3 separate regions of the Homo sapiens genome follow, and all the other regions are linked to region 3. The links are contacts of gene promoters, found by promoter capture Hi-C in blood cells and fetal thymus (Javierre and others, 2016). All regions are on one chromosome and are shown on one strand. Each heading gives the region's core, a stretch centred on a gene start or on the middle of the fragment in contact. The rest is flanking DNA. Distances are from core to core; before and after follow the strand shown.

Region 1 (4,154 bases), core at 1,622-4,121, 130 kb before region 3:
TCCCCCTTCACAATCTCATCTAAACCCTATTTCTTCCCAAAGGCTCTCATCTCCAAATATCATCACCTTGAAGATTAGGGCTTCAACATGTAAAATTTGGGGACACAATTCAGTCCATAGCAGTCTCAAGCTGGTATGGTGCACAGCAAGAACTCAAAAACAGTCTAGCTGTAAAACCCATGCACTTAACCATTATGCTATATTTCCTTCTTTTAAATTAAGAGAGTCAGCGTTACTACTTTTTATATATAAATAGTTGTGTCATGAATAAAATGGCATTTATAGCTTAATTTTAATAAATTGTTCACTCTTTTCAAATAACAGATATGGTACCAAGCACAATATCATTCAGAGTTAGGAAAATAGGAACTATCTTCATAGGCAGAGAGTTCCACTAACATATATTGAACCCAGACAAATGCTGAATTGTATAATTAATAGTGGAATAAGGCACTTCGCTTCTTATCACATTTCATTGTGAGGCTTATTAGGAAAAAGAAATTAAAATTTTAAAAGGAGGAGGGCATTTCACAGTAATGAAAAAAGCAGACATAGATATTAATAAAACATTTCCAAAACCCCAAAATATGTATAGATCCACAACACAGGGATATTATTTTGTTCTCCATAGACAGAACGTAATGTAAAGAATTGATAATGTAGGTGCTGAAGAGCCAGAAAACAACTCCGCCACTGCCCTCTTACAGATAAATGTGTGTTTTATGGTAGTGGTAGTGGTGTTTTTCTGAAACAGCGTTGCTTTTAAGTGAACGTTTTGCTTTGGCACTTGGCATGCAAAATAATATCCCTGTGTTATGAACCTATACATATTTTGGGAGTTACCCAAATGTTTATGATCTTTGTCTCTGCTCCTTTCATTACTGTGAAATTCCTTCTTCTTCCTAAAATTTTAATTTCTTTTTCCTAGTAAGCCTCACAATGAAATGTGGTAAGAAGCTACATATCTCATTCCACCACTATTACACAATTCAGTGTTTGTCTGGGCTCAATAAGTGTTAGTGGGTTTGTTAGCTCTTAGAAATTGTTGATACTCTGCCATAAAATCATACATATATTCATTCATTATAATGATCTCAATCACTTTTGTAAAATTCAGTTTCCTAGCAGAATTTGTCTTGCATTAGCCAAACATTTTTCAGGCTGAAATGTAAGCCTGTTTAGTTGGTATAAGATTCTTCTGAGATGTTTTAATGTATACTTCATTTTTATTACACAGTTTTGTCCTTAGTTAAAATAGAAACACTGAATTGTAAATGCTCTTTTAAGAGTTGGCATATAGCACTGTATAAATTAGATAGCTAGTAAAGTTAAATTTATATTTTTAAATTACCAAATGCCTTCAGTCAAGGCTTTAAAATTATGAGCATGTGAATAGGGTTTCAACTACAGTATAGGCTCCTGGGATCATAACTTGATTTGTTTCTCATTTATACTGTGTCTATATAGCTAATTTTTAAAAAACAAACAATGTGTAATGATTATTTGTGGTATTTTTTAAAGGAGTGGCTTTAATTTCGCAGGTCAGTTCTATAAGTGTTTTTGTTTTTAAAAAGGTATGCTTTCTTATGAAAGAATGATAAAGTTGAATTTGGGGGACTTTCTAAATTCAAACAAACATTAAGTAACGCATGTTGATTGTGATAATATAAAATACTTAGCTGTGATGTTCTGGCTTTTTTCCTTCATAGACCAATTCCTTCCTAACCTGGATTCCACTGTCCTTGGTGAAAACTACTTTGATGGAACCTACCAGATGCTTTATCTTTTGGTTAAAGGAACTATACCTGTTGAAATTCACACTGCCACAGTGATATTTGTTTCTTTCCAATTATCTGTTGCAACAGAAGATGACTTTTATACCTCTCACAATCTGGTTAAAAATCTTGCCTTGTTCCTAAAGATACCAAGTGACAAAATCCGTATCAGCAAAATAAGAGGGAAGAGTCTGAGGAGGAAGAGATCCATGGGATTCATAATTGAAATAGAGATTGGAGACCCTCCTATTCAGTTCATAAGCAATGGCACCACAGGTATGAATAACAGGTGTTTGAGATGGAGGAATGCAATTACCAAATCCATATCCATAAATAACCTGATCAGGGCTTGGTGAGCCTGGCCTCAGGAAATCCCATCAACCCCACATCCTGAACCCTCTAAGTGCCCAGAGACCCTTTTTCCTTCTTTGCTCCTGTACTACCAAACTGTTTTAGAATTGGAAGGAATTTGAATCTCTGTTTTGTTATTGTGATGATTAATAAGTTCAACAAAAGAATTTGATCTAATATAAAAAGATCTGGGAAGACCTACTTAAGCAAGTGACCTTACAGATGAGAGATTAAGGATGAAGATAGTCAATGAAAAGACAGAGGAAAAAGAGTGTTCAAGCTATGGAAACTGTTGGTGAGAGTTTGGTGCATTTGAAGAGAGGAAACAGGTCCGATTGGTCTGGAGTGGAAGGAGCCAGGAAGGACAAGCTGCTGGAGGTGTAGCCAAGGGGTAGACAGGTGCTAGATGTGGAAAGCTTTGGAAGTCAAAGGAAGGACTGTGGATGTTTTCTTAAGAAAAAGAGTAAATATTCTTGGATATTCTGAGCAGTAGATTGGTGGGTTAGATTTCCACAGTAAAGTCACAGATTCAGCCCAAAAAGGGCAGATGTGCAAGTACATAATCTGTCTTTATTTCCTGTGACTGAGCGAATCATCCTCACAAGCCATCATCCCCTCTCTGTGTCCCTCACTTCCTATTTTTTATCAGAGATAAAAAAATAAGCTCAACTGTCCCATCAGAGAAATCTCTGCTGGCTGAAATCATTTCCTTAGGGTCACTCAGTTTGGGCACTTGAGTAAATGCTCAGCTCTTCAAATTTTCTCTATCCATCTGCTCCTTTCAAGTTGGGGTCTGAATACCAAGGGGCTGTTCTGGCCTCCGTCCTCATGTTATCATCTTGTCTTCACAGCCTCTGGTACAGAGTGGGTCATCTTCTCTGCTCTACATATGCATCTCTTGAGGTACTACTGAACTTTCCTGGTCTTCTGGGATGCAATAATATCCCCCACTGCTAACCTGCAACCATGCCTTTGTCTTCAGTGGTCAAGCACAAGTACTCTGATCTAGGTGTACCCCTCCCCAAGAACAGGAAAGGCAGGTATCTGTCAGAGGAAGACTTACCATCCAGTTAATGAAGCTTACACTTCAAGCCCCCTCACTGATACAAGTCCTGGGAGGGGCTTTCACTTTCAATACCTTAGGAGAGGTCCTCATAATGTGGTCAAATCATTGAATGTTATTATGAAAGCTACAAAGGTATGATTTTTCTGCATTCCTTTTCCTAAAGAGATCGTCCAGACATATATAAACTGCAGCCCCACTAGGTTGGGATCTACCCTATCTACCTGTGTTCAGTCACTTTATCATTAAACTCCCAGGCTCTGTGTAAACCTGGGTACTGGGTGAAGTTCTCACTTTATGCCACTAGAGATCTTCACTCATTTTCCCAAGAGGTTTGCTTCTAGGCATTGACCCTATGCACCTACCACATTATCACTCTGGAATTCTATCAGCTAAGCAGGTGGAAGTTTCTTCCATTGGGGGGATAAGCCTGTGGGAAGGCTTGCCTGTGTGGAGGGAGGTGTTTATAAACTCTTGGTTAGAAGAGCGTAGGAAGCCTAGGCTTGTGTTGCAACCAGATCTCCCACGATGTTCTCTGCCCAGAGTAATAGTTAACTTTCCTTCGTCAGTTCTGTACTCACTTGGACTTACAGGCTCAGGGTTTGGACTCAGCATGACTTTGCCTGTTATTTTAGGAGTTGTAAAGGGCCCATGGCACATATACAGATTACTCACCTACTCTTAGAAATCCCTGGTGAGCCCTTACGTGTCGTGAGGTCCAAAATTTACCACACTAGCCACTAGATATCCAAAGAAACTGGGATTTATTTCTTACATGTGACATATATTTCCCCACATACAATCCCTCCTACATCCATCCCCTTAAAGCAGTTTTAGCTTGTTAGATTTATCCAGACAGGTATAAGACCACTGAAGAATGTAGAAGTTAGGGATGGTGGGAGGGACAGGCTAATGGCACATTTTCTAGACATAGACTGCGATAGTGTTTCAAGTCTCAAGGAGAA
Region 2 (3,910 bases), core at 1,075-3,574, 94 kb before region 3:
ATAACTATTCTTTTCTCTCTGAATTACCTTTGCATCTTTATCAGATTTCAGTTTTTGTATATACGTGGGTCTATTCCTTTACTTTCCATTGATCTATTCGTGTATTTTGATTCCAATACTACACAGTTTTGATTACTGAAGCTTTATAACAAGTCTTGAAACCAGATAGTGCTAGCTGTTTTACCTTGTTCTTTTTCAATGTTGTTTTGGCTGTTATATACGTTCTTTGCATTTCCATATGAACTTTAGAAATTAGCTTGTCAAGTTTTAAAGAAAAAACCTGCCCAGATTTTGGTTGAGATTGCCTGGAATCTATAACTCATTTTGGGAAATGTTGATATCTTAATAAAAATATTCTGTCTCTGAAAAAGTCTTTTTAAATTAATAGGCCTTTTAACTGTCTCAGCAATATTTGATAGTTTTCAGTAGTCAAGTCCTTAATTAGATTTGTCCTCAAGTATCATTTTTTTATGCCTATATAAATTTTTTTAACGTTTCAATTTCTTATTGATTGTTGTTAACGTATAGAAATACAATTAATGGTAGATCCCGTTGAATTTTCCACATAGAATATCACACTTTTATTTCTGCCTTTCCATTCTGGATGCCTTTTATTTCTTTTCTATTTTTTTCTTTTTTCTTTTTTTTTTTTTTTTTGCTGGATTGCATTGGCCAGAACTTCCACTACGATGTTGACTAAAAGTAGAAAAAGCAGACATGCTTGTGTTGTTCATGATCTTAGGGAGAAATTATCAAATTTTTTTACCATTAAGTCTCATATTACTGTAGGTTTTTCATAGATGTTTTTGATCAGGTTGAGAAAGTTCCCTTATACTTTGCTGCAATTTTTTTTTTTAACAGGAATGGATGTTGAGTTTTGTCAAAGGCTTTTTCTGTCTCTATTGAGATGTTTATATGGTTTTTTGTTTTTAGTTTGCTAATATAGTGAATGACATTTGATTTTTAAATGTTAAACCAATCCAACATTTCCAAACTAAGCACCAGTTTTTCACAATGTAGTATCCATTTATATATTGTTGGATTTAATTTACTAATATTTGGCTAAGGAGATTTGTGTCTAGATTCATAGAATATTAATAGTTTTCTTTTCTAGTAATATCTTTGGATTAGTATCAGTGTAATACTGGCCTCAAATAATGAGTTGGGGAAATATTCCTTCTTCAGTTTTTTGGCAGTTTGTATAGAATTGGTATTATTCCTTCCTAAGTGTTTTGTAGAATTTACCAGTGAAGCCATCTGTGTCTGGGAGATTTTTATAACTACAAATATAATTTCTTTAATAGATATATAGATTTTCAGGTTGTTCTTCTTATGCTTTAGTAATTTGTGTCTTTCAGGGAAGTTGTCCATTTCATCTCACTTGTCAAGTAAATACAGGCACAAAGGTGTTTGTAATAGTTCTTCAGTATCCTTTTAATATCTGCAGACTCTAACAATGTTATCTGTCTTGTTTATGATATTGGCAAAAGTCTGTTATTAAGGACACGTGTTTTAGATTGTTATGTACTTTTTATTAATTGACCCCTTTATCACTGTGAAATGACCACTTTTATACCTGGTAATGTTATTTTTCCTATAATCTGTCTAACATTGAAATAGTCACTTCACCTTTCTTTTGATTAGTGCTAGCATAGTATATTTTCTCCTATCCTTTTACTTTTAACCTATTTGTGTCTTTTTATTTAAAATGCATTTCTCATTGGCAACATGGAGTGGGGCGGTCTTTCTTTCTTATTCAATCTAACAATCTCTGCTTTTCAATTGGAATGCTATACAATTTGCATTTAATGAGATTATTGATATGGTTAGATTTACGTCTGTCATCTTATTTGTTTTTGGCTTGTCCCATGTGTTATTTGTTCTCTTTTCTTTGTTTCCTGCTGCCTTTTCAATTGAGTAGTTTTTATCTCCCTGCTTGTCTTATTGGTTATGACCAGTCCTTGCCCCTCAGAATATATGATTTAATGGACTTACTAGAGGTACTCCTAGGTATTGGCATTTCTTTAATAGATTCCCAGATTTGTGAACCACTGGACTAAATGAGCTCCATGGTAACTTTCAATTTACTAGCTATGTGACTTTGGTCAAGTTATTTGACCTCTCTTAATTCAATTTCCTCATCTATAAAATGGATATAAGGAAATATATTCATCTGCAAGTTAAAAATATTTAAAGTATTTTAAATAGTATTATGTTCATGTGGTTCAAACTTTAAAAGGTACACAGAGATTTAATATATTCTATTTTATACTTTTTTATTTTTTGAATTGTAGATTTTTGTATTAATAGATTTAGGTAAAATTATTTTCAAAAACTCAGAATGAAGGGTTTTATCCTTACAACCATTGAAAACTCGAAAACCTGGTTTTTGACTTGTTAATATGATTTAAATTATAATTTTAAAATTTACTGTGTTATAGTTTCTAGAGAAAGGTAAAAAATATCTTAGATTTTTCTTAGTGCATAATAGGTCTTTTCAGGACAGGAGTATGACTTTTGAAATCAATTTAATGCATTTTTTGTTTTGTGCCTCTTCCACAGGTTTTGATTCCCACCATGGCCATCACCCAGTTTCGGTTATTTAAATTTTGTACCTGCCTAGCAACAGTATTCTCATTCCTAAAGAGATTAATATGCAGGTAAATAAGTTTTATGTTCAAACTAACCTGTTTATCTCCTCGCTGGTTTTGGATACCTTCAAAACTTCAAATTTCGTGGACAGGACAGGTTATATTTAAGCTGAATATCTTGATTGCAGTATTTATTCATTAATTCCTAGTCATTTTTAGATACTTTTTCTCTACTTCAGATCTAGAAAATAGAGGTTCAGTTGTTTTGTTCATTCAAATTCTTACACTTTCCACTAAAATAACATGCTTAATACTATTTAGGAATAGACAGACCAACTTTCATTATTATAATCATCACAGAACTTTGATGTATTCGTTTCATTATGGGAATGTTTTAAAGTGGTTAGGTGAAATTCGGAATAGGTATTTCTGTCTATACTACAATAGTGTTGTTTTTATATTTAAAAAAAAATCCTAAGAAAAATCCTAAAAAAAAAAAATTTTTTTTTCTGTTTGAGTAACATTCTAGAATATGCAGGAAGTCAAGAGCAGGTAAGTCATTTGCTTTAGGACATCATCTGTAGACTTCAGTTCCTTCTGTTTTGTCACACGATCATACCCAAGAGCTATGATGTCTAAAATGTGTGCTGAGGCACCTCAGGGCTTTACATGAAATTCACAGGGATGCCATAGAATATTTTAAATTTTGCAGTGAAACATAGTGATAGCATCTGTTGAATACCTCAACTCAAAGTAGTTCACATTTGCAACATTAAATCCTGCAGTATTTTTTTATGATGGTGTTCTTTAATGTTTGAGATAAGTTTTTGTTTACTTATATTTTTGGTGACATCTCATTGCAAAGCCAGGATTTTAGGTTGTAATTAAAAGCGAGTACTGCACCAAAATTAATGTAGAACTGAAAACAAGAATGATGGTCTCCAGTCTTATTCTAAGGCATAAGAAGCTGTGCAGTGTTCAACAGGCACACAAATTTCATTAATAAGTTCAGTGATTGTGGTTATTTAAGAATAAAATAAAAATATTACTTTTTCTTTAAATGTGTATTTTTTACAATGGCTACTAAGCAGTTAGGATATACTTAAGTTTTTTGGGTGTAACTACCTTATTCAGTGGAATTGTTAGGTGTTTCTGTGGCCTAAGGGTACTGTGAAAAAGTTACTTACATACTAAGAGGAGGGTATAGTAAAAGAGGAAATGGACAGCAATCAGCTCTTTTTTTAATATATATAGACATGACTTAGAGGTTACACACAACAATTTTTGCACTGCCTGCTTTCCAGAGCTTAGTCATATGG
Region 3 (4,108 bases), core at 7-2,506:
TACATCATCTTTAATTTTTGTTTTCCTTACAGGACATCCATAAGAAGAGATTTTTCTTTCTCCTTAAAAACGCAGCATGAAGTACCCTGCCATTTCGTGGTTTTAAAAATGCGTAACAGTAATATTTTCACAATGTTTTCCAACTTATAAAGTGCTTTTCCAACCATTTTCTCATTTGATCTTTACACACCAGACTGTACATAGAGAGCACACCAATGAATGTCCCTATTTTCAGATGAGGAAACAGGCTAAATGGGGTAGAGATGCTTAGGCAATTCTGCACACCATGCCAGAAGTAGAACGAAATTCAAATCCAGTGCTTTGCAGGGTCACCACCACCCTGCCTTATGAAAATGGATTCCTAGGAGGAGCGTTTTGCAAAAATTCCACTGCTTCCTCCAACCTCTGCCACTGAAAGGGACTCTTTGGCTTAGGTAACAAACACCCTTTCGAAACATGACCTACTGTTCCTTCCACCGGCTTACCAGGAAGGGTCACGGCCAAAATAAACACCTCTGGGAGGCCGGCACATGGCATAAATTGAAGGGTAAACCTCAGCAATGGGGAACTTCGGAGGGCCCTCAGGCATCCACTCTACCCGGGGGCCGCCAGCCGCACGCAGCCTCGGATTCGCCCTGCACATCTGCCGCCCAGCAGGTACCATGCGCCAGCCACTCCGCCGGGCACACCGCAGACCCTGAGCTAAGGCAGGGTCACTGACACGCGGGAGTCCTCTTTTCCCAGTCGCGGATGCATCAAATTCCTTTCATTCACATCACACACACAGGATATCAACTGAAAGCTACACCCCACAGTCCCAGTTTCAGGAGGTGGGATTAACCCTCCAATCATGTCATTCTCCAAAATCTATTCCTCCAGTACCACCTCCCCATCTCCTGGATCTCAACTCCTAAGCAATGCCTCCTGCCTTCTCCAGACCCCACCACCACCTCCTTCCACCTTTCCCCAGACTCTAAATGTCACCCCTCCAGCTCTCATCCCGCCGCTTCTCGCCCCGCAGTGCCCGCCTTCCCCGCCCTCCAGTGCCCGCACTGCCCCGCGCTCCTTACCTTGCTCTCGCGGAGGGGCCCCATCGCGCCGCTGCCCGCCGGCTCCTCGCGCCGCCGCTGCCGCCGTCCAGGAGGAGGCACCTGCGAGCACGGAGCGAGGAGACTGCGCTGAGCCGGCGCGGGCTGCGGGCGGCGGCTCTTGGTGAGGCTCCAACGCGCCGCCGCCGCCACTGCCGCCGATTGCTCTGGGCTCCGAGGGCACGCCCGACCCCGCCCCGGCCGGACACGTGGTGCCGCACTCGCTAGAGGCAGCTCCTGGGGCGCCTCCCACGCCCTCCCTCACCTGCGGCCTTCGGGGCAACTCGACCGCGCCTGGGCGCGCCCCACCCGCCCGATTTCCCCACGGCACTCCGCGCCCCCCCAGCCAGAGCCGGTGTCCCTCCCTCTCCAAGGAGCTCGGCCCGGTGTAGGCAGGCTGCGGCTAGCGGCATCTCCAGCCCAGGGGTGACCCCACCCTCTTTTTTTTTTGCACTTGATCTCAGGTTTGAAGTGGGTGGCGTTGGATGGAGTGACTGAGAAAAGCTGCGACATCACAGAGAGACAAAATAGAGAAAGTTTTCCCCTGGCCACCCCTCCTTGGCCTCCAGGTCTTAAGTCAGCCTACAGCTCCCCACAACTGCCTCGCCCGAGAGCTGCAGAGATCCCTCTCGTACCGGAGCCCAGCCAAGCCAGTGCGTCAGGACCGACACAGCCTCTGGGTTCCGGGATCTGAAAGGCTGCGATGGATTCTACTTGGAAGGGGTTGCATCAGAAAGGCCTTCAGTGGTCAGCGCAGCTCCCTCCGGCTTGGAGAAGCCAGGCTGCTATGTAGCCAGAGAACAGTCTTTTCCCCAGCGCTGCCCTGCAGCTGCCCGGCTCCAGGAAGTAGCTCCAGCACACTGCTAAGGGAAGAGCACTGGAATTGAACTCAGAAAAACGAGTTCAAGCCAGCACTCCAATCGGTCCCTTCAGCCTGAGTGCCTTTATGCCTAAAGTTTTTGTTGTTGTTTCGTTTTTTGTTTTTTTTTTTTTCCGTTGCTGTTGAAACGGCATCTCGTTCTGTGGCCCAGGCTGTAGTACAGTGGCGCGATCAGGGCTCACTGCAACCTCTAACTCCTGGGATCAAGGGATCATCCCGTCCAGGCCTCTCAAAGTGCTCGAATTACATGCGGATGCCATTGCATGCGTGGCCTACGCCTACGGTTCTTGACCCTTCTGAACTTCAAATTTACCCTTGTTAAATTGAGGGATAATAATAGTGATACCTACCTCTAGGATAGCTGTGAGGGTTAGGTGAGGAAAACAAACAGCTCTATCCAGCTGATTGAACAGAACTTTCCAAAGGGCAGCTAAGTCAGGTCCAGATGATCCAGTCAATATTTGTTGATGCCTTTTACATGACAGGCAGAAAAAGCATTTGTGATGCACACAAATTTGTTTAAGAAAGCTCGAAAATCTGTCCAACTGGGGACTTAGAATAGGGTACATCAGCTGGGCCAAGGGCCTTGATTTATTACAATTGCTACCCTTAAATCTTATCTGGTGGTGGAATTCACCATGTATAATGACTTATATACCCTTTATTCAGAATTGGAGAATATTCCAAGCAGTGCGACACTCTGATCCTTATGCACCAGTGTCCTACATAGGAGGACTGTGCTCCTCGAAAACTGAGGGTCATTGTCCCCTTTCATCCATCCTCCAAACAGCATTTCTGAGTCCTCAACTCTCAAGCCTAAGAATATATGTTGTGAGTCTAGAGAGAGCCTGAAGCCAGAGGATTAGTGGAATCAATTTCCCTTCTTCCTATAACTCCAAAAGAGAGCTTCCTCCATAAATCTTCATGCCTTTTCAATCTACTTAGCTCTCTCAAGCAGTGAGGTTGGTAATTTTAAGATTCTTTATTTGGGAAGAAGAGGTGATTAATTCATACTTTCTACACCCACAGCTGTTTCAAATATGGACCTCAGGAAAGTGATGGTCCAGGATGATTCATACAACTTATTATTCCTAAAATTATGAGCCTGGGATCATATACTGTGAGATAAGAACAAACTTTTAAAGTTAATGGATGCTTCTGAGTTCCCTACTTAGAATTGAGAATTGACACTGGGGACCTAATAGCAGAAACACCCTCCACTGAGTTAGCCAAGTCAGAACCTCAGTGTCATCGTGGACTTTTTTCTCTCATTCACCTGACCCACACATAGCATAAACCACCAAGTGATCTCTATGCCACCCAAGTAATAACGGTCTTGAATCTGATTACTTCTGTCCACTATTTGTCTCCATTATCTTCGTGTAGAGTGTAAACCACAGTCACCCTAGATTATTGCAATAGTGGTCTAACTCAAGGTCTCTTGCTTTCAGCCTTGCCTCTTATTCCTTTCTCTCCGATCAGTGTCTCCATTTTTCCACAAGCCTTTATGAAAAGCTAAATCAAGTCATGCTTCTCCGTGAAAACTCATTAATGATTTCCTGATTGTCCTCCAGGTAATACTGAAACTCCTTAATGTGGCACACAAGGCTTTCCTGATCTGGCCGCCTTGTTTACCTCTCCGATCTCATTTCTTGCCACTCCTCTCTTTTGTAGATACTCCCTCCCCTCCCTAACCTGTCCCTTTGGTCCCTGCCACTCTTCCCTTACATACAAATGGATACTGCTCAAACTGTAGCACTTTCAGTTCTCGGAGGTGGAGGTTTTGTATTCTCTTTTTCGTCGAGACTGCTGCACCTGCCTCTGTTTAGAACATTTCTTGCACTACATCCACCTATCCTCCTCAACTCTTAAAGATACATTGTTTCATTTTAGACAGCTTCTTCCAGGAAACCTCCCCTGATGATTCCAGGACACTTATTTTTACCCCCAAGAGAGCTGTTATGATCTCCTCAGAATTCCCCATTTACTTGTTTGTTTTCACCAAAGCTTGTAGGCAGTGCCTAGTACAATTCCTGTTATACAGTTGACACTCAATACATAACTGTCAAATGAATTAATGCCTGAATGAGTGAATTCTATAACCCCATAAGGGGCCCATCAGTGCAAGATAAAGAACATA

What was found. Contacts are between HindIII fragments. The CHiCAGO score rates a contact against its expected background, and 5 or more counts as called.
Region 1: a contact is called between a fragment that was not itself captured here and the fragment with the promoter of SYBU in region 3, in 2 of 17 cell types (total B cells and naive B cells). The highest score is 9.5, in total B cells.
Region 2: a contact is called between a fragment that was not itself captured here and the fragment with the promoter of SYBU in region 3, in 2 of 17 cell types (total B cells and naive B cells). The highest score is 9.1, in total B cells.

What each region holds. Positions count from the first base shown.
Region 1 is chr8:109,516,458-109,520,611 of GRCh38, forward strand. PKHD1L1 (PKHD1 like 1) reads left to right here. Exons shown (of 78, transcript NM_177531.6): 73 at 1,710-2,051. Among named protein-coding and RNA genes, the nearest start is that of EBAG9UORF, 21 kb to the right of the region's middle. The HindIII fragment of the contact is 663 bases long and covers 2,541-3,203 here.
Region 2 is chr8:109,548,248-109,552,157 of GRCh38, forward strand. EBAG9 (estrogen receptor binding site associated antigen 9) reads left to right here. Exons shown (of 7, transcript NM_004215.5): 2 at 2,563-2,660. The coding sequence starts at 2,578. Among named protein-coding and RNA genes, the nearest start is that of EBAG9, 10 kb to the left of the region's middle. The HindIII fragment of the contact is 4,370 bases long and covers 140-3,910 here.
Region 3 is chr8:109,643,566-109,647,673 of GRCh38, forward strand. It overlaps SYBU (syntabulin), which reads right to left and starts at 1,257. Exons shown (of 7, transcript NM_001099754.2): 1 at 1,071-1,257. The coding sequence starts at 1,094. It overlaps SYBU-AS1 (SYBU antisense RNA 1), which reads left to right and starts at 564. Exons shown (of 2, transcript NR_161375.1): 1 at 564-657; 2 at 1,553-4,108. RefSeq lists a silencer at 1,022-1,511 and enhancers at 1,024-1,960, 1,622-1,941. The HindIII fragment of the contact is 4,274 bases long and covers 1-3,973 here.